Linked DNA regions of Homo sapiens: regions 2, 3, 4, 5, 6 and 7 are each linked to region 1. Evidence: promoter capture Hi-C in 16 types of primary human blood cells and fetal thymus (Javierre and others, 2016). All regions are on one chromosome and are shown on one strand. Each heading gives the region's core, a stretch centred on a gene start or on the middle of the fragment in contact. The rest is flanking DNA. Distances are from core to core; before and after follow the strand shown.

The links. The method cuts DNA at HindIII sites, captures the fragments that hold promoters and counts their contacts. A CHiCAGO score of 5 or more calls a contact.
Region 2: a fragment that was not itself captured here is called in contact with the fragment with the promoter of POMP in region 1 in 1 of 17 cell types (fetal thymus); the score reaches 6.1 in fetal thymus.
Region 3: a fragment that was not itself captured here is called in contact with the fragment with the promoter of POMP in region 1 in 1 of 17 cell types (fetal thymus); the score reaches 6.0 in fetal thymus.
Region 4: a contact is called between a fragment that was not itself captured here and the fragment with the promoter of POMP in region 1, in 1 of 17 cell types (total B cells). The highest score is 5.3, in total B cells.
Region 5: a fragment that was not itself captured here is called in contact with the fragment with the promoter of POMP in region 1 in 1 of 17 cell types (monocytes); the score reaches 5.1 in monocytes.
Region 6: a contact is called between a fragment that was not itself captured here and the fragment with the promoter of POMP in region 1, in 6 of 17 cell types (monocytes, megakaryocytes, total B cells and 3 more). The highest score is 10.4, in monocytes.
Region 7: a fragment that was not itself captured here is called in contact with the fragment with the promoter of POMP in region 1 in 6 of 17 cell types (M0 macrophages, endothelial precursors, M1 macrophages and 3 more); the score reaches 7.6 in M0 macrophages.

Annotation. Positions count from the first base shown.
Region 1 is chr13:28,657,457-28,660,501 of GRCh38, forward strand. It overlaps POMP (proteasome maturation protein), which reads left to right and starts at 1,674. Exons shown (of 6, transcript NM_015932.6): 1 at 1,674-1,731. The coding sequence starts at 1,729. RefSeq lists an enhancer at 1,167-1,326 and a silencer at 1,547-1,606. The HindIII fragment of the contact is 5,788 bases long and covers 1-3,045 here.
Region 2 is chr13:28,160,735-28,163,779 of GRCh38, forward strand. All of the region lies in intron 1 of PAN3 (poly(A) specific ribonuclease subunit PAN3), which reads left to right. Among named protein-coding and RNA genes, the nearest start is that of PAN3-AS1, 23 kb to the left of the region's middle. The HindIII fragment of the contact is 1,134 bases long and covers 995-2,128 here.
Region 3 is chr13:28,195,370-28,198,414 of GRCh38, forward strand. It overlaps PAN3 (poly(A) specific ribonuclease subunit PAN3), which reads left to right. Exons shown (of 19, transcript NM_175854.8): 5 at 1,816-1,977. Among named protein-coding and RNA genes, the nearest start is that of PAN3-AS1, 58 kb to the left of the region's middle. The HindIII fragment of the contact is 7,528 bases long and covers 1-3,045 here.
Region 4 is chr13:28,229,073-28,232,117 of GRCh38, forward strand. The region is part of intron 6 of PAN3 (poly(A) specific ribonuclease subunit PAN3); the gene reads left to right. Among named protein-coding and RNA genes, the nearest start is that of PAN3-AS1, 91 kb to the left of the region's middle. The HindIII fragment of the contact is 1,792 bases long and covers 611-2,402 here.
Region 5 is chr13:28,256,129-28,259,173 of GRCh38, forward strand. It overlaps PAN3 (poly(A) specific ribonuclease subunit PAN3), which reads left to right. Exons shown (of 19, transcript NM_175854.8): 7 at 164-411. Among named protein-coding and RNA genes, the nearest start is that of PAN3-AS1, 120 kb to the left of the region's middle. The HindIII fragment of the contact is 4,854 bases long and covers 1-3,045 here.
Region 6 is chr13:28,275,519-28,278,563 of GRCh38, forward strand. It overlaps PAN3 (poly(A) specific ribonuclease subunit PAN3), which reads left to right. Exons shown (of 19, transcript NM_175854.8): 15 at 1,719-1,858. Among named protein-coding and RNA genes, the nearest start is that of PAN3-AS1, 140 kb to the left of the region's middle. The HindIII fragment of the contact is 1,452 bases long and covers 696-2,147 here.
Region 7 is chr13:28,292,816-28,295,860 of GRCh38, forward strand. PAN3 (poly(A) specific ribonuclease subunit PAN3) reads left to right here. Exons shown (of 19, transcript NM_175854.8): 19 at 1-2,520. Among named protein-coding and RNA genes, the nearest start is that of PAN3-AS1, 160 kb to the left of the region's middle. The HindIII fragment of the contact is 720 bases long and covers 1,292-2,011 here.

The DNA of each region.
Region 1 (3,045 bases), core at 424-2,923:
TAAATATCTGTTTGCATGTCTATTTCCCCAGGAAAATATATAAGCATCTCAGGTACAGGGAATTGCTCTTTTCTTCTTTATAGCTCCAGAATCTAGTACCAAGCAAATGTTCAATACATATTCATTGAACTGTGAGCAATCAGCAAATGTTAAAATGATTTTTAAGAAAAGATTCGCAGTTTTACAATTTCTCAGGTGGAATTGACGGAAAGAAAAAAAGATGCAAACGAAACACTCCAACTCAAATCTCAGGATTAAACATGGCTATTGTGAAGGACCAGAAGACACCTAAAGGACAGCATGGCAGAACACATAACATCTGGAACTTCAAAGTTGTATGACCATGGCAGTGGATATACATAACATATATGGCCTTATCATTTTCCTCTCTCAAATCCTTCGATGGCTTTTTAAAGACAAAGCCTCATCCTTAATCTTGCCTACAAAGGCTGCATAAAAAACCTGTAGCTAGGTCCCATGATGCACGCCTGTAGTTCCCATTACTCAGCCGGCTGCAGCAGGAGAATCGCTTGAGCCCAGGAGTTCAACGCAGACCTGGGCAACATAGCTAAACCCTATCATTATTTAGAACAAACAAACAAAAACAACAACAAAAACCACTTGCCTCCATCTACTTACAACCTCATCTCACAGTACTCTCCACTTTACTTTCTGAACTTTAGCCAGACTTAGGCCTTCTTTCCAGTTCCGTTTTTGCACAAGCAGATCTGCACGTAATGTTGTTTTAAATATCCTACTACCCCAAACTAGTTCGCTCTTATCTTTTAGCTGTCAGTCCAAAGATTCCCTAAGATGTCTCCATCCTGTGGCAGCAGACTATAAGGCCGTTTTATTACATTATATTTGAACAATACAGAATAGTGTAATGAGCATGGATTCTAGACTCATAAATATGTCCTTAGGCATATTTATTTAAGCCCTTCATGTCTCGGTTTCTTCACCTGTAAATTGTACTTGTAAGGTTATTGAAAAGATTAAAAGAGATAAAGGATGTAAGCACTTAGAACTGTGTTGATAACGCAATTCAAAGGGCCCAACATATGTCGGTCATGATCACATTTACTTAATTTGTAGTCACTATCGTCCCCTCTCTCCCCTCTAGCCTCCGGAGTACCCCTGCTCCTCTAGCCCAGAGGCCACACCGGCCTGGTCCTTTTTTGTATTCCTAGCCTCAGCACAGGGTTCGGAACATACCAGGCCTTCAATATTATGTTTTTTAAAAATGACAAAAGCCTTGTGTCCCAATTTTGCTTTATTAGCCGAACGATCTCAAGCAAATCACTCAAACCACCTACGCCTCGTTTACCCTTCTGTGAAATGTAATAGCTACCTCAGAGAGGTTTTGTGTTAAATAAGGCGATGTACCTACAAAAGCACACTGCACATCTTAAAATGCCGTACAAACCGTAGATGTTTATTAATAAACCGGAGTCCGTGTCTTCCCTCCCCTCAGGCACGTCTCGTCCCGACCCCTCCCTCCTCCCAGCCCACACCCTTACTGCGCCCTTGGCCCTGGGTCCCTTGGGATTGCAAGCGTGGGAGCCTCGGCCCCGCGCAGCTCCCTCCGGCGTCCCGCGCCCTCCTTCCTTCCTCGCCAGGACGGACGCACTTCCGGCGGATGTGGGGGCCAGCCCTCGGAAACGGAAGTGAGCGGCGGGGTCGACTGACGGTAACGGGGCAGAGAGGCTGTTCGCAGAGCTGCGGAAGATGGTGAGTGGGTACCCGGGCGGCTGGAGTTCCACGCGGGCTCGGGACCGTGGCTCGGCAGAAACAGGCAGTCGCCTCCCAACCCGTCCCCGGTGGCGGCGGCGGCGGCAGCGTGGGGCTGAGGCCGGCCTCAGGCGCCATAATCTGTCGAGTCACGGGGTTTGGGTGGGTCGTGACTGTCGCCGGGGCCCGGCACTAGTCCCACTAGCAGTGCTTCGGCTTCATCCTGCTCCTCTTAGCTCGGTTTGCGCCCTTCCATCCCTTAGACCCCAGCAGGCCCAGACCTCCTCCCCTTACTTGGCGCAGAAGTGGAAAAGGCAGCCGTGAAAGTGCAACGTTCTGTGGGGTGGCGCTGGCGACCCTTTCCTTGACGGGTAACCTCTGGGAGCCCAGAGCTCTCAGACTCCTCATCTCCCCCAGCCCCCGCCCTTGTAACTGCCTAGTAAACAGCCCACAACTATAGGTCGCATTTGTGTAACGCAGCTTTGCTCTACAAACTTTTTTGAGAGCTTGTAGTGTGCTAGATGTTAGAGGGGAAAAAATCAGACAGTTGCTATTCCCTGTTTGCCAGTATTGTTAGTATATCTCCTCCCTCCTTCTCCTCCCCACCACTTTCTCTTTCTTTTTAACTTAGAAGTTGTGGTATTTGAGAAGAACACTGAGTCACCATTGCCACAGACTCTGATATCGGTACTGCTGGTAGGCCATCCATCCAAATCTAGAAAGTTTCTATTGGTAAATACTGCTAATCGTTATCTAAAAAGTTTTTTAGGCACTCTCAAATGTAACTAGTAGTTAGGTTTTCGTAGATTTGCCTTTCTCGGCTCCTTCCTTTATTAGAAACAGCAAGTACTAATCTTGATATTTTACAGAAGGAAATTGGGAAAAATGACAATAACAGAATCCAGAAGTCAGAATTCACCTTTTCTTTGTGCGTTGAAACCTTGTTACTTTACAATAAAGCAGTCCAGAAGGAGGAGAATGTTCATATAGGGAAGTAATAGAAGATACATTTGGAAAGCAACAATCACACATCTCTGCTGAAGGTCCCCAACTTCTGGTGGTTCAACAATCTTCTGACTTTATGATGGTGTGAAATCCATACACAGTCAGTAGAGGCCATATTTGAGTACCAATACAGCCATTCTGTTTTTCACTTTCAGTACAGTATTCAATAAATTACATGAGATACCCAGTACTTTTTAATAAAGTAGGCTTTGTATTAGATGATTTTGGCCGACTGTAGGCTAGTGTAAGTGTTCTGAGCACATTTAAGGTAGGCTAGGCTAAGGCCTGATGTTTAGTAGGTTAGGTGTG
Region 2 (3,045 bases), core at 312-2,811, 500 kb before region 1:
TCACAGTAAATGGATGAGAGTTTAAGAGGGAGAGATTGATCTATTTAGATTGCTGGAAAGTTAAGTACTTGAACTATATCGTTAGTTCTTTATGGAATTACCTCACTTTAGTTGTGGCATAATATTCTTTTCTGTACTTCTATTGAGAATAAATATAAAAAGTGTTTCAAGAAATCTTTCAGTTGTCTTGAAGATGTCATGGTGTTCAATGTTCTTTATGGAAAAATCCTTGTAATAATTTCTTCGAATAGTTTAGTACTAGGAAAAATGGTTTTTGCTCAAACAAATTGGTATTTGTTATTTTACTAAGCAAGCAATTTTTAAACTTCCATTTTCCCTTTTTTTATCTTGTCTGTTTCAAAATGTCTGAGCTTAATGTTTGACTGAAATATTTTTATTAACCTGTATTTTTAGTTTAATCTATATTTAATCTTTTATTATGTGGCTCTATTGTATGTTTTCGGGGGCGGGGAGCTTACACAACAGAAATTTATTGTCTCAGGTTTGGAGGCTGAAAGTCTAAGATCAAGGTGTTGGCTGGATTGCCTTCTTCTGAGGGCTGTGGAGGATAATCTGTTCCATGTCTTTCCCCTTAGCTTTTGGTTTGCTGACAATCTTGGACATTTCTTGGCTTGTAGAAACATCTTCCCAATCACTCCTGTCATCTTTACTTGATGTTTTCCCTTTGTGTGCATCTGTGTTCAAATTTCCCTTTTTTATAATGTCACCAGTCATACTGGATTAGGACTGCCCTAATGACCTCATCTTTAATTATATCTGCAGTGACTCTATATTCAAATGAGGTCACATTCCAAGGTACAGGGGATTAAGACTTCAGCATAGGAATGTGGTGGGGGTTGGGAGGGACAGTTGAACTTCTAACAGTTGTGTGGTTAAACAAATGAGATAATAACCTGAAATGCCTTATGGAGCTTCGGAGTTAGGTAGAGAATTGAGAATTTGAACTTGTTCTCTTCATGACTGTCTCCACAGAAGCTTTATCATAAGGGCAGGAAGCACAGTGTTTATAGTCATTAATTGCTGTTTTCTGACAGTTTGACTTTTTCCTTGGTTTGTGAACTTTCGAGGGAGTTCCAGCTCTTCAAACAGACAGTATGTCTTGTCCACCTGCTTTGGATTTGAGTCTTGTTTTACAGACAGCTTCTGTGGGTTTTATAACAGATGTGTAAAATATTCCAGCCTACCTTTTTATCATTTATTTTAAAATTAAAAAGAGAAAAACCTACATGGAAAGTTTTTCCTAACACACTCTATTACAAAGAGCATATTAGTGTTTCATCAGAAAAAGCAGGCTACTTTTTGCAAATAAATAAGTAGATTTGGCACCTAATATCAACTGGGCATGCCAGTATACTGAATTAACACAACAACCTTGGAAAGTAGATGCTACTGTTTTAGTGTTACAGAGGAAGAAACTGAGACTTAAGTATACTGTTGAAGGTTAGTAGTTGGCAACTGGCTGAAACAGACCTCATGGTCAGTATTTGTTAAAAGTCTATGCTCATTCCACAATCCGATAAAGAAAAGGATGGTGTGAGTATCTGCTGAGGGGGTAGAGGAGCCCCTGTTTCTTGGGCCTGCACTCACTGTACTGTCATCTGGCATCTCTGAGGTCTCAGTTTCCTCATTGGAAAAGTGGAGGCAATCAGCCGGGTGCCGTGGCTCATGCCTGTAATCCCAGCACTTTGGGAGGCCGAGGCGGGTGGATTGCATGAGCTCACGAGTTTGAGACCAGCCTGGGCAACATGGCGAAACCCCACCTCTACTAAAAATACAAAAAATTATATGGGCGTGGTGGCGCACACCTGTAGAACCCAGGAGGTGGAGGTTGCAGTGAGCTGAGATCACGCCACTGCACTCCAACCTGGGCAACAGAGTGAGACTCTGCCTTAAAAAAAAAAAAGCATTTAATTGAAAATAAAAGTTTGTACAAATGTGCTAGGCTGGGCTCAGTAACTCATGCCTGTAGTCCCAGTACTTTGAGGGGCCAAGGAGGGAGGATTGCTTGAATTCAGGAGTTTGAGGCTGCAGTGAGCTGATTATGCCACTGCACTCCAGCCTGGGTGACAGAGGGAGACTTTTTCTCAAAAATAACAACTTGCCACCAAGCTTAAAAAAAAAAAAACCTAACAAAAATGTGCTATTAGATTAAGGAGTACCAAAAAGTGAAAGGTGTGCATAATTACAGATACATACAGTGTAGTTACAGATAATTTAAGGCCGAATGCAGTGGCTTACACCTGTAAACTCAGCACTGTGGGAGGCCAATGCAGGAGGATCACTTGAGCCCAGGAAGTTTTTTTTTTGAGACAGCATCTTGCTCTGTCACCCAGGCTGTAGTGCAGTGGTATGATGACAGCTCACTGCAGCCTCAATTTCCTAAGCCCAGGAGTTCGAGACCAGCAACATAATGAGACCCTGTCTCTACAAAAAATAATAAAAAATAAATTCAAAACAAAACAAAGATAAGATAATTTACATTAGTAGATAGTACAGAAATACCTGAAAATGTAAAGGCTTAAATACTGTAGTTGAAGACAGCAATAAAAAGTCAAAAGGAAGTTTTTTTTTCTCAAATGAGTGATATAAATAGTATCTTAAGAGGTAAAGGTTTTAACAGCTTGGAATAATTGGGGAATACTTTCTAGAGAAGGGCAAATTAAAAAATAATGTTTATGATGACCTGTTAGAAAACATACTAGGCACTTTACATAGATTATTTCATTTGATTCCACACCACAACCCTATGAGTGAGATGGTATTTAACCTCTTTTTTCAGATGAAGAAATGAAATTTACAGTTACTTGCTCATGCTCATATAGTATGTAAATGGCACAAGTAGGACCCAAACTCAATGTGTAACTCCAAGTATTTTTTCTTTCTCATCATACCTGAGTCTTGAGTATGTATATTAGAAATTGATTATACTCCAGATGGTAAAGTGTGGGAGATTTTAAGCATATAATGAGTATATCATTGTAACTGGAGGAGAAAGTTCAATCGTTATATGATTCTTGTAAAGAT
Region 3 (3,045 bases), core at 321-2,820, 460 kb before region 1:
TTCCAGCCTGGGCGACAGAATGAGACACTGTCTCAAAAAGAAAAAAGAAACAAAACTCTGTCCACTGCCATAATTATTGAGTAAGTAGGCATTCTAGTTACCTTTCTCAATGCAAGTTTAGTTATTTTTGTCCTTGTTTTTTTTTGTTATTGTTGTTTTTTATTGTTTGTTTGTTTTTAAATTTGGGATGGAGTCTCACTCTGTGGCCCAGGCTGGAGTGCAGTGTCATGATCTCGGCTCACTGCAGTCTTTGCCTTCCAGGCTCAAGTGATTTTTCTGCCTCAGTCTCCCAAGTAGCTGGGATTACAGACATGTGCCACCATGCTTGGCTAATTTTTGTACTTTTGGTAGAGATGGGCTTTCACCATGTTGGCTAGGGCTGGTCTCGAACTCCTGACCTCAAGTGACCCACCACCTCGGCTTCCCAAAGTGCTGGGATTAAGGCATGAGCCACTGCACCCAGCCTTGTCCTCTTTAAATCAAAGACAGTATAGCAGATGCACACTTGTGGAGTGGAGAATCTAATTTGCATGGAATAATTTACATAGGCATTATTTGCAAGATTTTGAAATTTGGAAATTATGTCTTTTTTAAATTGGTTCTCTTTATACTAGAAAACATTATTAATATATTTGACTGGCTATAGGTTTTTTTTTGTTTTTTTTTTTTTAATAGAGACAGGGTCTTGCAATGTTGCCCAGGCTGTTCTGGAGCTCCTGGGCTCAAGTGATCCTCCTGCATCAACCTCCAAAGTGCTGGGATTACAGGCATGAGCCACCATGCCTGGCCAGCATCTTTTTTTGAAGAAACTTAATTTTAACTCTTTGTTTCAGCAGTCTTATACCTCATGACAGAACAATGAGTAAACATATATTTTCTTATTTCAGAGTTTAAATTAATTACCTTCCTAAGCATGAATTAGTGTTTTCTGAAGGGAAAAAATACATACAAGTTTTCCTTAAGATGCAGTCTAGTGCAAATTTGCTGTAATTAAGAGAAGTGAGATAGTGGAAACAAGCACTAATTTTCATGAATAAAAGTCCTGCTAACCACTATTAAGATAGCTTATTAATTTTCTTATAATGTTAGGCAAATAATTTATGATTTTATTGAATAATTTATTCATTATCAATCTGTTCATATTATTGAGATTTAAAAGACCAATTTGTGTTACTGTTTTGTTGTTGTTTTTTAGTCTGAGGTTTTTTTTTTTCATTGAATACTTTAGGGTGAATGCCTATTTAAGATAGAGTGAGTTGTACTCAAGTCTAACGTGCATAGAATTAAAATTTTTTAAAAATCAATTTATTAGGAAACAACTGCGTTTTTAAAAGTGGGTTAGTTCTCAGTAGGAAATAAAGTAACAAGATGGTGAGCTGAAAAAGTTGTAGTTTGGCGAACTTTATAAAAAAGAAAAATCTGTATTCTGTGTCCTTGAAACCATTTCTTCATATTGCAGTGAGAATAGGTAAGTGACAGTAGAAAAAATTTTGCAAAGCATTTTTCTTTGCTGATAAGTTAAATTTCTATTCATTAAGTAAAGTCGTATAAAATCAGATTAAATGTATTTTTCTAAAAACATCTGTTGCTTTATATAATATTCTTTAGCCCATTAGGAGTGTGGGTTATTTTGGAGGTGTGGGTTTGGTGCAGGGGTGGGAGGTGGTGGGTGGTGGTAAGGATATTAGAAGGAGTGTTTTAGAAACTTGTTTCCTATCCCACCGTTCCCAGTATCCTGTATATGTTAGTTATGTTAGTTTAGATTAGTGTGGGGGATGTTAGGAGTGGCCTGGTTTCTTTCCTTCTTTTTCCTAGCCAAGGAAGTATCGCCTGGGGATGCTGGAGGAGAGGCTAGTTCCGATGGGATCAAAGGCACGAAAAGCAAAGAACCCTATTGGCTGCCTTGCTGACAGGTGTAAATCAGGAGTACCCATCAATATGGTTTGGTGGAACAGAGTCACAGAAAACAATTTACAGGTAAAAATAATTTTTATTAGACATTTCTTGAAAGTGAATGTCTTGGCTGCTTTCTGTGTCTGTTTGGGGTGGTGGTTGTGAAAGGATTGGATGACTTAGCTGGTATACTTAGGTAATTAAAAAAATTTTTAATCAGAATAAAGTTAGTGACCCTTAACCAACTAAATGATTTTTTCTTGGTGGCTTTTTGAGCTTTTCCTCTTTGTAGAATATTTTACTTTTGTTTGTTTGTTTTTTGTTTTTTCAGACAGAGTCTCACTCTGTCCCCCAGGCTGGAGTGCAGTGGCACCATCTTACCTCACTGTAACCTCCACCTCCCAGATTCAAGATACCATGCCTCAGCCTCTCAAGTAGCTGGGACTGCAGGTGCACACCACCATGCCTGGCTAATTTTTTGTATTTTTAGTAGAGATGGGGTCTCGCCATGTTGGCCAGGCTGGTCTCGAACTCCTACCTCAGGTGATCTCTGCCTTGGCCTCACAAAATGCTGGGATTGCAGGCATGAGCCACCTCTCCTGGCCGAATATTTTACTATATTTAGTTAAATTTAGTTTTTCTGTTTTCAATTTTGTTAATACTTGAGTTCAATTATTTTTACTACCCAAGAGTTATTCAGGATAGGACTACATTGAAGAGTCATATAAGGCCGGGCATGGTGGTGCACGCCTGTAATCCCAGCACTCTGGGAGGCCGAGGAAGGCGTATCACCTGAGGTCAGAAGTTTAAGACCAGCCTGGCCAACATGGTGAAACCCCGTCTCTACAAATATACAGAAAAGAAAAGAAAAATTTTAGCCAGGTGTGGTGGGGAGCACCTGCAATCCCAGCTACTCGAGAGGCTGAGGCAGAAGAATGGCTTGAACCTGGGAGGCGGAGGTTGCAGCAAGCCGAGACTGCACCACTGCACCCACTCCAGCCTGGGCAACAGAGCGAGATTCTGTCTCAAAAAAAAAAAAAGAGTCGTATAAAATTTATTACACAAAGTCACATTTATTTGGAAATCTGAAGAACAAGATGCTTCATATGTTGTCTTTTTAACATTTTTACTAGGAAACAAAAATTATATGTA
Region 4 (3,045 bases), core at 257-2,756, 430 kb before region 1:
ACCCAAGCCTGGAAGTTTCTCCTATGATGACTTTTGACTAAAATCTGGACTTAAACTATTTTAAGCAGCTTGGCTACATTTCCCAGCCTCCTTTAGAAGCAAAAGTTTTTAACAGTTGATCCTGGTTATCTCATGAATATACATTTGAGATATTTTCTCATTTGCATCTTTTGTAATGACTTTAAAAATATCACCAAAGCAGCTGCAATAACTGATTTATCTAGCGTCAGGGGAAATGAATCTTTCCAGCATACTTGAATTTTTTGGGTATCAGAAGCTTACAGTTTTAATTGTCAGAACTTTATATTTTCCAAAATTTTTCCATAGTACTCTCTGGCTTAAAACAAAATATAATCTTATTTATTGATGACTCTTGTTCAACTATATGTGCCTCAGTAATTGTATTGAACCAGAATACACTGACTCTTTACATATCCAAGTTTGTAGAGGAGTTTATTTCAAGTTATGTGATTACTTAGATTTGTTATTCTTTCCACTGGTCTTCTGCTCCAATGAATTAGTTATAACTTTTTGAAGGTAAGGTCTTTCTCTTGCTTCTGAGTCTCTTAAAGTGCCTGAAAGTAGTGCCTTGAATGGCCATAATCTGGCAAGCTTACTTTGATCATTTTTTTTGTTTTTATTGGCTTTTTTATTGGTAATTCTGTTGTGCTGTTTGTGACAGTGATTCTCAAATTTCAGTCTACCAGAATCACCTAGAGGCTTGTTAAACTCCAGCATTTGCGTGGTTCCATCCCCAGAGTTTCTGATTTAGTAGCTCTGGGTGAACCAGGGAAGATTTGCTTTTCTGATGTGTTCCCAGGTGTTGCTGATGCTGCTGCTTGTCCTGGGACTTCATTTTGAGAATGACTGCTCGATTTAGAACTTTTGTCATTCTTATCTCCTCTTTCCTCTTAATCTCCCTTTCTCATCCTCCTCCTAATCTGCTGAGAGCTAAGAACACAAAGATATCTTTTAGTACCTCTTTTTTTTTTTCTTTTTTTTTAAATGAGAAAAAGGCTTTGAGTCAAGGACTTGAATTGTTTCCTGTGAATAAGGTACATGAGCTTTATATTATCCTTTGGCTGAGGCTAGTATCACTTCATTTCTGGTTAATGTCTGTGTTCTGAATAACTAGAGTTATTGTTGAATTCATGAATATAGGAGTTGCCGATGCTTAGTCATGAATAAATCTGGGAAACGGATTCCTTCCACCTTGGTAATGTTAGTGAGACAAAATATAAATTAGTTACTATAACTTTTAGTTTTTCAAAATACTTAGGAAATGAGTAGCATAAGTACTGTGGCTGTTTAAAATATAAAACCCTCAAGCAGAGTTCCATGGATGGAAAAAAAAAACAACCCTATGGTTCTGGAACTAGTAATCAGATATCTTTTATTTACATGTTACACTTTAATATGTATGTTTTTAAATTGTTACAAAAAAATCAACTAAATTGTTCACATGAGAACATGTCCTGGCAAAAAAAGAAAGAGAAAATAAGAGAAAACAACTAAATTGTTGTTAATGTTAGATAAATAAGAGGCACTTATTGATTCAACCACAGTTTTCTGGAGATCAACTTTAATTTTTGTTTGTACTTTGGTGGTAGCTTTTTTCATTGGAAAGAAATCCAAAATTAAAATTACATTGTTAACTAAATCTTACTTTTTTGTGTGAATTTTTGTAATTAATTTTCATAAGACACTCTTGTCTTTAAGTTTCTTGTTTGTAAACAACACAACACAATTTATCACTATGAATGAAGGACACCATTTACTCAAACAGTCACTACCACTCAAGAAGAAAAAAATGGTTCTTTTCAACCAAAACAGTTATATTTAGTAGCTAACACCTTTCTTCCCTCTGTTTTGATGCTTCGTTTAAGTAAGTGTTATTATTTAAAAGATTGCCACCATTGTAGAGTCTAGGGAGATCCCATCATTTTAGATCATTTGGCCAAGTTTGGGGACAAGCAGGTAGGTTACTGTTTTGTTTCTTCAAACATAGAGACCGAAGTAAGTAACCTACTATTATAGGCCAGTGGGTAAGATTCCTACTAGTATAGTTAAAACCCTGATGCTGGTTTTTTAAAATATGTTGAATTATTCATGTTTTTGGGATTTAGGCACTGCACTTTATACAATCAATAGTCTAATGATATTTGTTAAATTAATTAATGACAGTTCATCTAGAAATGACACCATTAATACAGGCAAGACTGAAGTTATGTCAAAGGGAAGATTACTATGTGTAGACCAGGAAAACAAAGTAGTTGTGCAGGCTGTGATCTCTATCAAATATTGAGGACTGTGTGTTTGATAAAGCTCAGGTTAAATTCATCATATAAATTGACATTATGTGCCTGAGTTTGGTCAATAAGATTAAATACATTTTATGAGAAAGCTTTAAGGTACTTAATTATTTTGTTAATGCTTACAGTATTTCTAATACCAGATAGTCTTAAGTATCTATCATAGATAGATATTCAGCCAAAATGAAGTAGGATTATATAAATTAGTTGATGAAATTCTGTAGTTATTAAGGGGAAAATCAGAGATGGAAATTAAGTTGCAATTATTTGGGTTAGATCCACATGGCCTCTATTAAAGGTGATTTACATGTAAAAATAAGTCTAGGCAACACAGCATGACCTGGTCTCAAAACAAATAAACAACAACCATAGGCAGGTATGGTGGCACACACCTGTAGTCCCAGCTACTTGGGAGCTTGAGGCGGGAGGATTGATTGAGCTCAGGAGTTCAAGGCTGGAGTGAGCTATGATCACACAATTGATCTCCAGCCTGGGCAGCACAGTGAGACCCTGTCTCTGAAAATGAAAATAAATAAATAAATAAATCTTTTTAGAGTACTTTGAAATTTGTCGTTTTATTGCATAATATAAAGAGATTTTGTACTTTTAATCAGTTCATGGTGTTATAATTGAAATGTCACTGTTACGCAGTCATAAGGTAAACATTTAGCACTTTTCCTTTATATTTACCCAAAAGTGAAAACCAGTTCTTGTTTACTTCTCAAAAAAATGA
Region 5 (3,045 bases), core at 283-2,782, 400 kb before region 1:
GCTTTTTCTACAACAAAACAAGATAAAATTATTTCCTTCATCTTTGCACTTACGATCCCAAAGATGATGTTTCTTCCAAATGAATGTTTGCATTTTATTTTCCAGACTTGTTCTCTAAAACCAATTATTGCTCCATTAAGAAACATTTTTACATCTTCTTCAGGAATGTCGTTGTCTGCTGGGTCTTCCCCTCTTCATTCCCCCAAGATTACTCCACATACTTCTCCTGCTCCCAGAAGAAGAAGTCACACTCCAAATCCAGCAAGTTACATGGTGCCTTCTAGTGCCTCTACATCTGTTAATAATCCTGTTTCTCAGACTCCGTCTTCTGGTCAGGTGATCCAAAAGGAAACTGTTGGTGGGACGACTTACTTCTATACAGACACAACTCCAGCACCTTTGACTGGAATGGTATGTCTACATTAAAGAGGAAATTTTAGTACTCTCTTGTAACAGGACCTTCTTAGTTGTGAGGCGGTCTACCCCCTCCTGCAGCTTTTTATTGTGATGCAAAAAAGTATTTCATTTTCTAACTTAGATGAGAAGTCTAGTCTCTTCTTCTCAACTCTTCAAATTAATCTAGTTCTGCCTTACTAATAATTCTAGTTTTGGACTAAACTGGTTTAATCAGAAATTAGATTATATCCATGCTCTTATTTTAGTCTTTATGGCATGTTTTGCTTATGGGTTTACCTTGTACTAGCTGGAATTGATGCCTGCTGACATTTGTTTATAGGTATAGATAGTTTAACCTCAGTAAGAAGCTAGAAAAAGTAGATGGTATGTCCTCAGTAGTTACTGGAAGCAAATCAATGATAAACCCTTATTTCAGATGAGGTAGTTATTTAACAGCTAGATCTGTGGATGGTGGAGTGACACATAATGATAAGGGGCCTGCAGTATGGCTCTTATGCTCAGGAGATAGAGTAGTCAGACCCAAGAGAGCCATGATTGTAGATGACGAAAGAGCTACCAAAGGACTGGCGATGAAGTGAGGGAAGAATCGTGAAACAAATGGGAAGAGGTGGCCCCAGAGGAAACATGAATATTAAGACCAAAAGAGGAAGAACATGGCCAGAAAGAAAGATTTCTTATCAGAGTCAATTAGTAATGTTCCAGGAGAGGGAGAAGGAACAGGAGTCAGGGGGCGAGAATGAATGGGGAAGGAGAGGGAAGGATTCCATGTTACGTAAATTGTACCTTTTTTAGCTTCATTACTTCATCCATATTCAAAAATTATTTTATTTACCCTAGAAAAATAAGTAGTAGATGAAGTGAGTGAGAAAGTCAGAGTCCACTAAAACAGGGGTCCTCAATCCTTGGACCAGAGACCAGTGTTAGGAACCAGGCCGCACAGCAGGAGGTGAGCAGTGGGCGAGTAAGTGAAGTTTCATCCGTATTTACACCCACTCCCCATTGCTCTCATTACCATCTGAGCTCCTCCTCCTGTCAGATCAGCAGAGGCATTAGATTCCATAGGAACATGAACCCTATTGTAAACTATAAATATATTGTAAAATACATATATATTTTATATATATGTAAAGTTATTAAATTATATAAATATATATTATATATATTATATATAATTAATATATATTATATATAAATTATATATAATATATAATTAATTATATATTATATATAAATTATATATAATATATAATTAATATATAAAATTATATAAATATATATATTTTTTGAGATGGATGTTCGCTATTTCACCCAGGCTGGAGGGCAGTGGTTCAGTCTTTGTTCACTGCAGCCTCCGCCTCCTGGGTTCAAGCATTCCTCTCACCTCAGCCTCTAGTAGCTGGGACTACAGACGCACACCACCATGCCTGGCTAACTTTTGTATCTTTAATAGAGATGAGGTTTCACCCAGTTGATCAGTTGGCCAGGCTGATCTCAAATTCTTGACCTCAAATGATCCGCCCACCTTGGCCTCTGAAGTGCCGGGATTACAGGCGTGAGCCACCATGCCCAGCCTAAACTATGCTATCTTATGTAAGGAAACCAACACAAGAAAAAAGAGATATTATTCTCCCTGCAGACACAGGCTAAAGGAAACCTTACAAGTATCACAAAACTGCTTCCTAGTTGAGATGCAGAGCAGAGCAGTCATGTTAGGGCAGCGCAAATCAGCTGAATTCGTTTTTAAAAGAGAAAAAAGGTTTCATTGTTTAAAATGAAAGAATGAAAAAATAGAAAAGATATTTAAAACTGAACTTTGATTTTGTATCATGGACCAGTGAAGGAGAGGCAGAGAAAAGAGTGATAAAGAGAACAAAGGGTGGTGGGATGAGTCCAGTTGAAAGAATGAAAGACAAGAAGCTGGAAGCTGATTTAGTAACTTTATTGTAGTTTGCTTGGAAGGTAAATGTATTATTGTATCCTTCTGTTCACTTAAACTGCTGACCTAGAGTAGGTTTGAATAACACTTTGTTTAGTTTGGCCACAAAATGCCTGTGAAAGGGGAAATTCTTTGGGCAGCCAGGGCAATATCACTTCCTTATCTCCCAGTACCCAAACACCTTTAGTTTCTCCTTCCTTCCTTCCAGTTGCTTTCAAAAAGTGGCGATGAACTGCTTGTATAGTTGCCATTTAGTATCCAAGGGGGATTGATTCCCGGACGCCCACAGATAGCAAAATTCCTGGGTGCTCAAGTCCCTGATATAGAATGACATAGTATTTGCATAGATCTTATACACATCCTCCTGTATACTTTAAATTATCTCTAGATTACTTATAATACCTAATGCAGTATAAGTGCTTTGTGAATAGTTGTTATAATGTATTTTTAATTTGTATTACTTCTCATTTGTTGTATTGTCATTTTTTTCCCCTGAATATTTCCTACCCATGGTTGGTCGAATCCTTGAATACAGAACCCAGGGATACAGAAGGCTGACTATGTGACATTTCTTCCAAAGAGCTACTTTTATCTTCTCAATGGAGCTTAAATTTTACTGTATCTGAAGAAATGTTTTCTTTCTCATTAGATTTTTTTTTTTTTTGAGACAGAGTCTTCCCCTGTCCCCCAGG
Region 6 (3,045 bases), core at 172-2,671, 380 kb before region 1:
TCTTTGGTATGCTTTGCTGGATACTTTGGATTGAATCGCCCATAGAAATTTATAGTTGGCATTTATATGCACTGATTTCTTTTGGCTGAGATTTCTGTAATTTCATGAATATAACTTGGAATGTTTTACTTGATCTAAAGTGTGATTGAGAGGAATTCTTTTTGGAGTTCATCACAGTGTCCTCCAGCAAACAGAAATGATGGCAACAGTAATAGTTCTCCTTCCCATGCCAGCTTCCCTCCTGCCATTCTGGGCTCCTGACTCTATCACCAGTGAAGTTTTAAAAGTTTTCTGGGATGAATCTTTGAATCTTTTCTAATAGATTCAAAGTAGTTTGTCTACCTAATCAGTCTGTCTCCTTATCTCATGTTCAGTGTCAGATTCACAAATGCTAGTTTTGGATAAATTTTTTAGTATGAACTTTTAAATGTTATTTTAGTAATGGAGTTTAACGTCTTTTTACTCATTATTTGGGTAGGCTGTTGTTAAGTATAACCATATAATGCTAGAATTTCACTAATGATTGCCTTAAAGTTACAAATATTCCAACAAACCAGTGGTTCTCAATCCTGGCTGCATATTACCATCATTTGTGGAAGCTTAGAAAAATACCAATACCTAGATTTTTATCCCAGACTAATTATACCAAAATTGGGACGAGGGGATGGCTACTGCTGATTTTGGTTTTGTTTTTAAGCTTCTCAAGTGATGGTAATATACAGCTATGCTTGAAAATTCCTTATAATAAACGAATGTTCAGTAAATGAACGTGTGTCTAATAATTTAGATGAGTTCTCAGATTTTAAAGATCTGCAAATGTCTGTTGTAGAAATTGCTTCAGGTGGTTTCATGTTAACTCTGAAGTACTCCATTCTTGAAGGCATGTGGTTGTTAATAGCTTCCTACCAATCAGGGCCACTTGGGATGACCATACTGTTTCCTGGAGTTATAATAGGTGATAAAGGACTTAATTCAGCCAGCTGTCTTTTGAAAATCCTTTTAGAAGGAAAGCCTCAGAATGGTAAATCTTGAGTGGGAGAGGTTTTAGGAAAGCAGGTGGTGGTTCCAGAGCTCAAAGATCTGTTAGAGTGTGAGGAAAAATAGTCTATTTGGAAACAAAGATAGATGGGATGTCATTCATTGAGGTTTGCAGCATTTTTGATGTTCTAGAGAATTTGCTCTAAAATCTGGTTAATGCTAATGTTTGTAATAGGATAACTTTTCTTCAGATAATCCTTCACATTCCCACTATATTCTGGGAGTTACAGAAAATGAGCAAAGTATGTATGTTAAGTTATAGTGGTCATAGCAAAGCAAATGTATAGTAACCTTAAATTTGTTGTAATAGAGAAGAATATTACCTCTATTTAAATAAGAAAAAATTAGAAAAACTTTTTAAAAGTGGCAATTTGTAGTTGGCATGGGAATTGCTTAAAGTCTCTTAAGGCGTGGACCTAGAACTACCTTCATCAGAATTACCTGGGTGCTTTAAAAATGTTGAGCCATTTTCTGGACCCACCCAATGAGAATCTCTGGTAGAGAGGCTCGAAGTCGTCTTTTTAATAAGCTCCAGGTTATTCTGAGAATCACCAGTATTTGAGGACCCTGCCTGCAGCTTATTTATAATGATGCTTTTTCCATTTAGGCAGTAGTGTCAGTGTATTAAATGAGTACCTGTGAAATGAAAATTAAAAGTTATATTTATTCTTTCATGTCAGCAAGCAGATCTGATATCATTAGGAAAAGTTGTGTTGGCTTTGGCTTGCAACTCTTTGGCAGGAATTCAGCGAGAGAATTTACAGAAAGCCATGGAACTGGTGACAATCAACTATTCCTCTGACCTGAAGAATCTGATTTTGTAAGTTTTAATATATGATAAATTGTACAGAATGATTATTTGCGATAAGACAGAGCTTTTTTTGTTTTAAGTGATTGTTTTGGTTCCCACTATTTAAAATCAAGCAAAACAGAAACTTTATGTCTTTATTTTTATTGCAAAGTAAATATTTCTTAGATAAATTGATAAACCAGTGTGTTTAAATTAGTTATTGATGTTTTAAACATTTGGTTAAAGGGCACCCAGTAGAAGTTTGTTGGTATCCACTAGCTACATGTGACCTTTTACATTGATATTAATTGAAATTTAAAGCTTACTTCTTCAATTACACTAGTCACATTTCAAGAGCTCAGCAGCCACATGTAATTACTGGCTAATATAATTGGACAGCACAGACATAGAATATTTCCCTCATCTTGGAGTTCTGTTGGATAGTGCTGCTCTAGAGAGTGTGAAAGCCATCATGAGTAAGCCTCAGGTGCAATCCAGTCATGTACTCTGGCCAAAATACCCATTCTGGAAAGCATTTGTGTGGAGACCCCCATGCTTACACTCCAGTATCTTAACGCTCCAGAGAATCCTTGAGTATCGATTTGAGATGAATTTGGCTTAAGAGAAACCCATTGTGTGGACTACTGTCACAACAGAAGGACTTCTCCGTAAGATATAGCTACTATTGGGAGATCCCAGAGGGTGGGCAACCACGACCTTTATTACAGTTATGAGCTATATTAGAGAAGAGGTGCTAATCAACAGTCTCTTTTAGCTTACAGCTGCCCATTCTGATCTTTCTGTGTAGCCCTGGATGATCCAGTTTCTTTTTGGACCAGCCCTGGGGTATGAATTGGGGGATGGAGGGTGGGATTGCCCACCTGTTCTTTGTTACACTGGCATAAATGTCCTACTTGTGACAGCACTAGAAGCCAGTGGTTGTCTGGATCCTATTCATAATCAAATTCAAATAAGATGATTTATCTTCTGAATAAAAATACTTGTTTTATATATGATCACAACAGTGATTCCTAGCCTTAGTTTGCAAATACCTAGGATGCCTCAAATAATTTCAGGTTATAATCTCTAAATTTTCCTTTTTAAAAAAGTGGGGATAGAGGACAAAAATAATCAGCCATATGTTAATAATTATTGAAACTGGGTGATGATACATGGGGATTCATTATATTACTATTCTATTATAAATGTTTGAAATT
Region 7 (3,045 bases), core at 402-2,901, 360 kb before region 1:
TTTTAATTTTTTAAAGACTTTTTCTGATCTTTGAACTTTTGCCACATTGTATACTTATAATGGGAAACTTTGCAAGGACATTTTTGGGAAGCAATGCTGGGCAGCGTTTTTGCCATTGAGGGTTGCAGAATTTGCTCTTTTTGGGATGGGTTGCCCTGAATAACATTACGGACCAGGTAAATAATTTCATAGAAGTTCAGTATAGTACGTAATTCTTGTAAGAGTATCGTATGCAAGCTCTCTGTATGCCACCCACTGTTAGTTCAAATTGAGATTTTTGTTTTGTTTTGTTCTTAAGAACATACCAAGAAAATACCAGTGAATTGTTGGATATGAATTCCCTGTTAGTTGATTTAAATCCTTTCTGAATAAAGATCAGATAAACAGTAACTGAAGGAGCATGTATAGCTCTTTCCTTCAAATTCAACTAGAGCCTTTTTAAAAAGACATTTGCCTGCTAGTCAGATACATTTACATTTATGCAAATTTTTTAAATAGGAGAAAATTAAGAAATTGTGTTAAAGGCCTAAAGTTCAGGAGTGTATTACTTTAGGTTCTTTCCAGTTTGCTGGTTTTTTTTTTTTTTTTTTTTTTTTTTTTTGGGCGGGGGGGAGGTTTATGAAGTTTTGCTCTTTGAACCACAGCTTTATTATGGTCCTTTACACTGGAGACAGACACAGAGACACTGTTCAGAAGATGAACTAAACTCAGCAGTGGTCTGGTATCAAGAGCTTTCTGATGTTTTACAGCCTGAATTTGGAGGGATAACGATCTGCTGTGCCTTTGCAGTCACTGCTTAGCCCAAAGTAATAGTACTTTTGATAATAACTCACTCTGTGCGATATTCCTGAATAAGTCCATCTCAAAAGTTTGGGATTTTCCTCCTCTTAACTTTCTTAATATTTGGACATGCAGTTGTCGCCAAACTTGGGTATTCATGGAATTTCTAGTAAATGAAATACCTATACTTTGATACTGAAGACTGCCAAATACATAGGAATTTTCTTTCTTAAAAAACAGTAATGAAGACTATATCTCCTTTCCCAGCACTGAATGTTTTACTAGCACTGGGTGCTCACCATGCAACTGAAGAAAATGTGGAAACTCAAAAGGTCAGGACAGACTTCCAAGCACTTGCAACTGATGTTACTGTCTTCAATTTTAATAATTACACATATTTGTATATTTCAGAGAAGTTTTTAATATTTCTCTGTCCACTTTTTATAAGCTTTAAAATGATTTTCTCTGCCTTGAGATTTGCATCAAGAAAAAGCACCTCTCTTCACCTGAAAGCTTTGAAGACTAGAGACACGCTTTACACGTTTTAACAAGTATATTGAGTCCACGTTTGGTAGCATCAGTTGTTGAGTTAAAAAGAAAATTATTGCATTTGATCTGGATGGATTTTAAAAGAATATAATGTTCAATATTAAAAGGATAATTCACATTTGCCACCATAATGTTCTTTTTTATGTAAAAAGAAGAACTTGGAGACATTAACATGAAAAAGTCTTTTATCATTAGCTCATGTATTTGAGGAAGAGCAGCTGTCTTTTTATATGTTTTTTGACAAATCATATTGTATTCTTTTGTACAAAAAAGAACTACTTGTATTCTAGAAGAAATATGAAATGCTTAATTTATAAGCGGGCTGGAGATTTTTTCCAATATTGTTTTCTTTGAAAATGAAAGGGGATCATCTATTTTAGTTTTGGGGTCTGGGAACTTTTTGAAAATTTAATTTGTGGACCAATGTTTTGTGAAAGCTAAAGAGGGCAGGGGTTAAAATAGGGCTTGAATTTCTCATTCTGTATAGACCAGCAAACTTCCCTGTGCAAGGCAAGTTTACATCACAAATCCAAGAATGTTTGCATCCTAAATGCTAGTTTGCTTCAGCCCCTAGTTAACCTCAGGACTTGGTTTGCATATAAAAGGTAGACAGCTGATATGTTTTCATGAATAAATATTGTCAGCCAGAAAAGGTTGGTGTCAGGTAATGCATATTTTTTTAAGCTTTGTTTTATATTTATTTTTCATTTAGTTTTTATTGGGAATGGTTTTCAAAGAACTCTCAGTTCTGCCTAGGTGTTTTTGGGGGAGCCCTGTTTTCCATAGTGTAATTCCATTTAAGAGGTTGTCTAAAAGTCTTTTTAATTAATAGAAAGATTTTAATATCCAAGAGTAGTCAAATTAAGGATATAAACTTTCCACACCTTCCTGTCGTGACAGATAAAAGCACAGAAAGGACAACCCTTGAAATCATGTAACGTTGGTCATTTCAATATTTTGTACCTGTTTTAAATTCTGTTAGTGTATTTACTTCATTGTAAATATTTTTGAGGGTACCTTTGTATTTTGCTTTTGACCTTGGTTCTGTGATTTGGATGTCAACAACTTCCCTAAAAAGCACCAGTGTGTTAGGTTCTAATGTCATGACCCAATTTGTGTTATTCATCTTTAATCCTGTTTTCAGTCTCTATGTGTACAGCAGTATTTTTAATAAAGAATTACAGAGATAAATTTGTCCTTTTCTTGCACGTGTTCATATAACAAGATGATGATTATCTTATGATTGGATTTTAAAAGATTGGTTATTTCCTCTGTATTTTGGAGGAATTTTTGTATTTGGATGAAATGGCAGCAGATTTATTCATTAATTTATCAGGTAGTCCTTAAGTCTTATCTACTGTGTCCTTGGATCTGTTCTAGGCACTAAGACAGATACAGGGACTTGGTATTTACAGAATGTATAGTTATACCCAAACATCTTAATACAATACATGACTAACAATGTAGTTTAGGAGAGAAGACTACTCACGAGAAAGCATAAGGGGTCTGCCATGTGTATGTCTGGTGGTAAAGTATTCCAGGTAAGGGAATGTTTCAGAGCCTTTGCGGAACAGCAGGGGAGCGAATGTGGCTAGAGCCAAGTTAAGTAGGAAGTGACGTCAGAAAGGTCTATAGGGAAGGGGTGTGTCCTGTGGACCATTTTAAGTATTTTGGCTTTTACCCTCAAAAGAGGAAGCCGTGCCGGGCGCAGTGGCT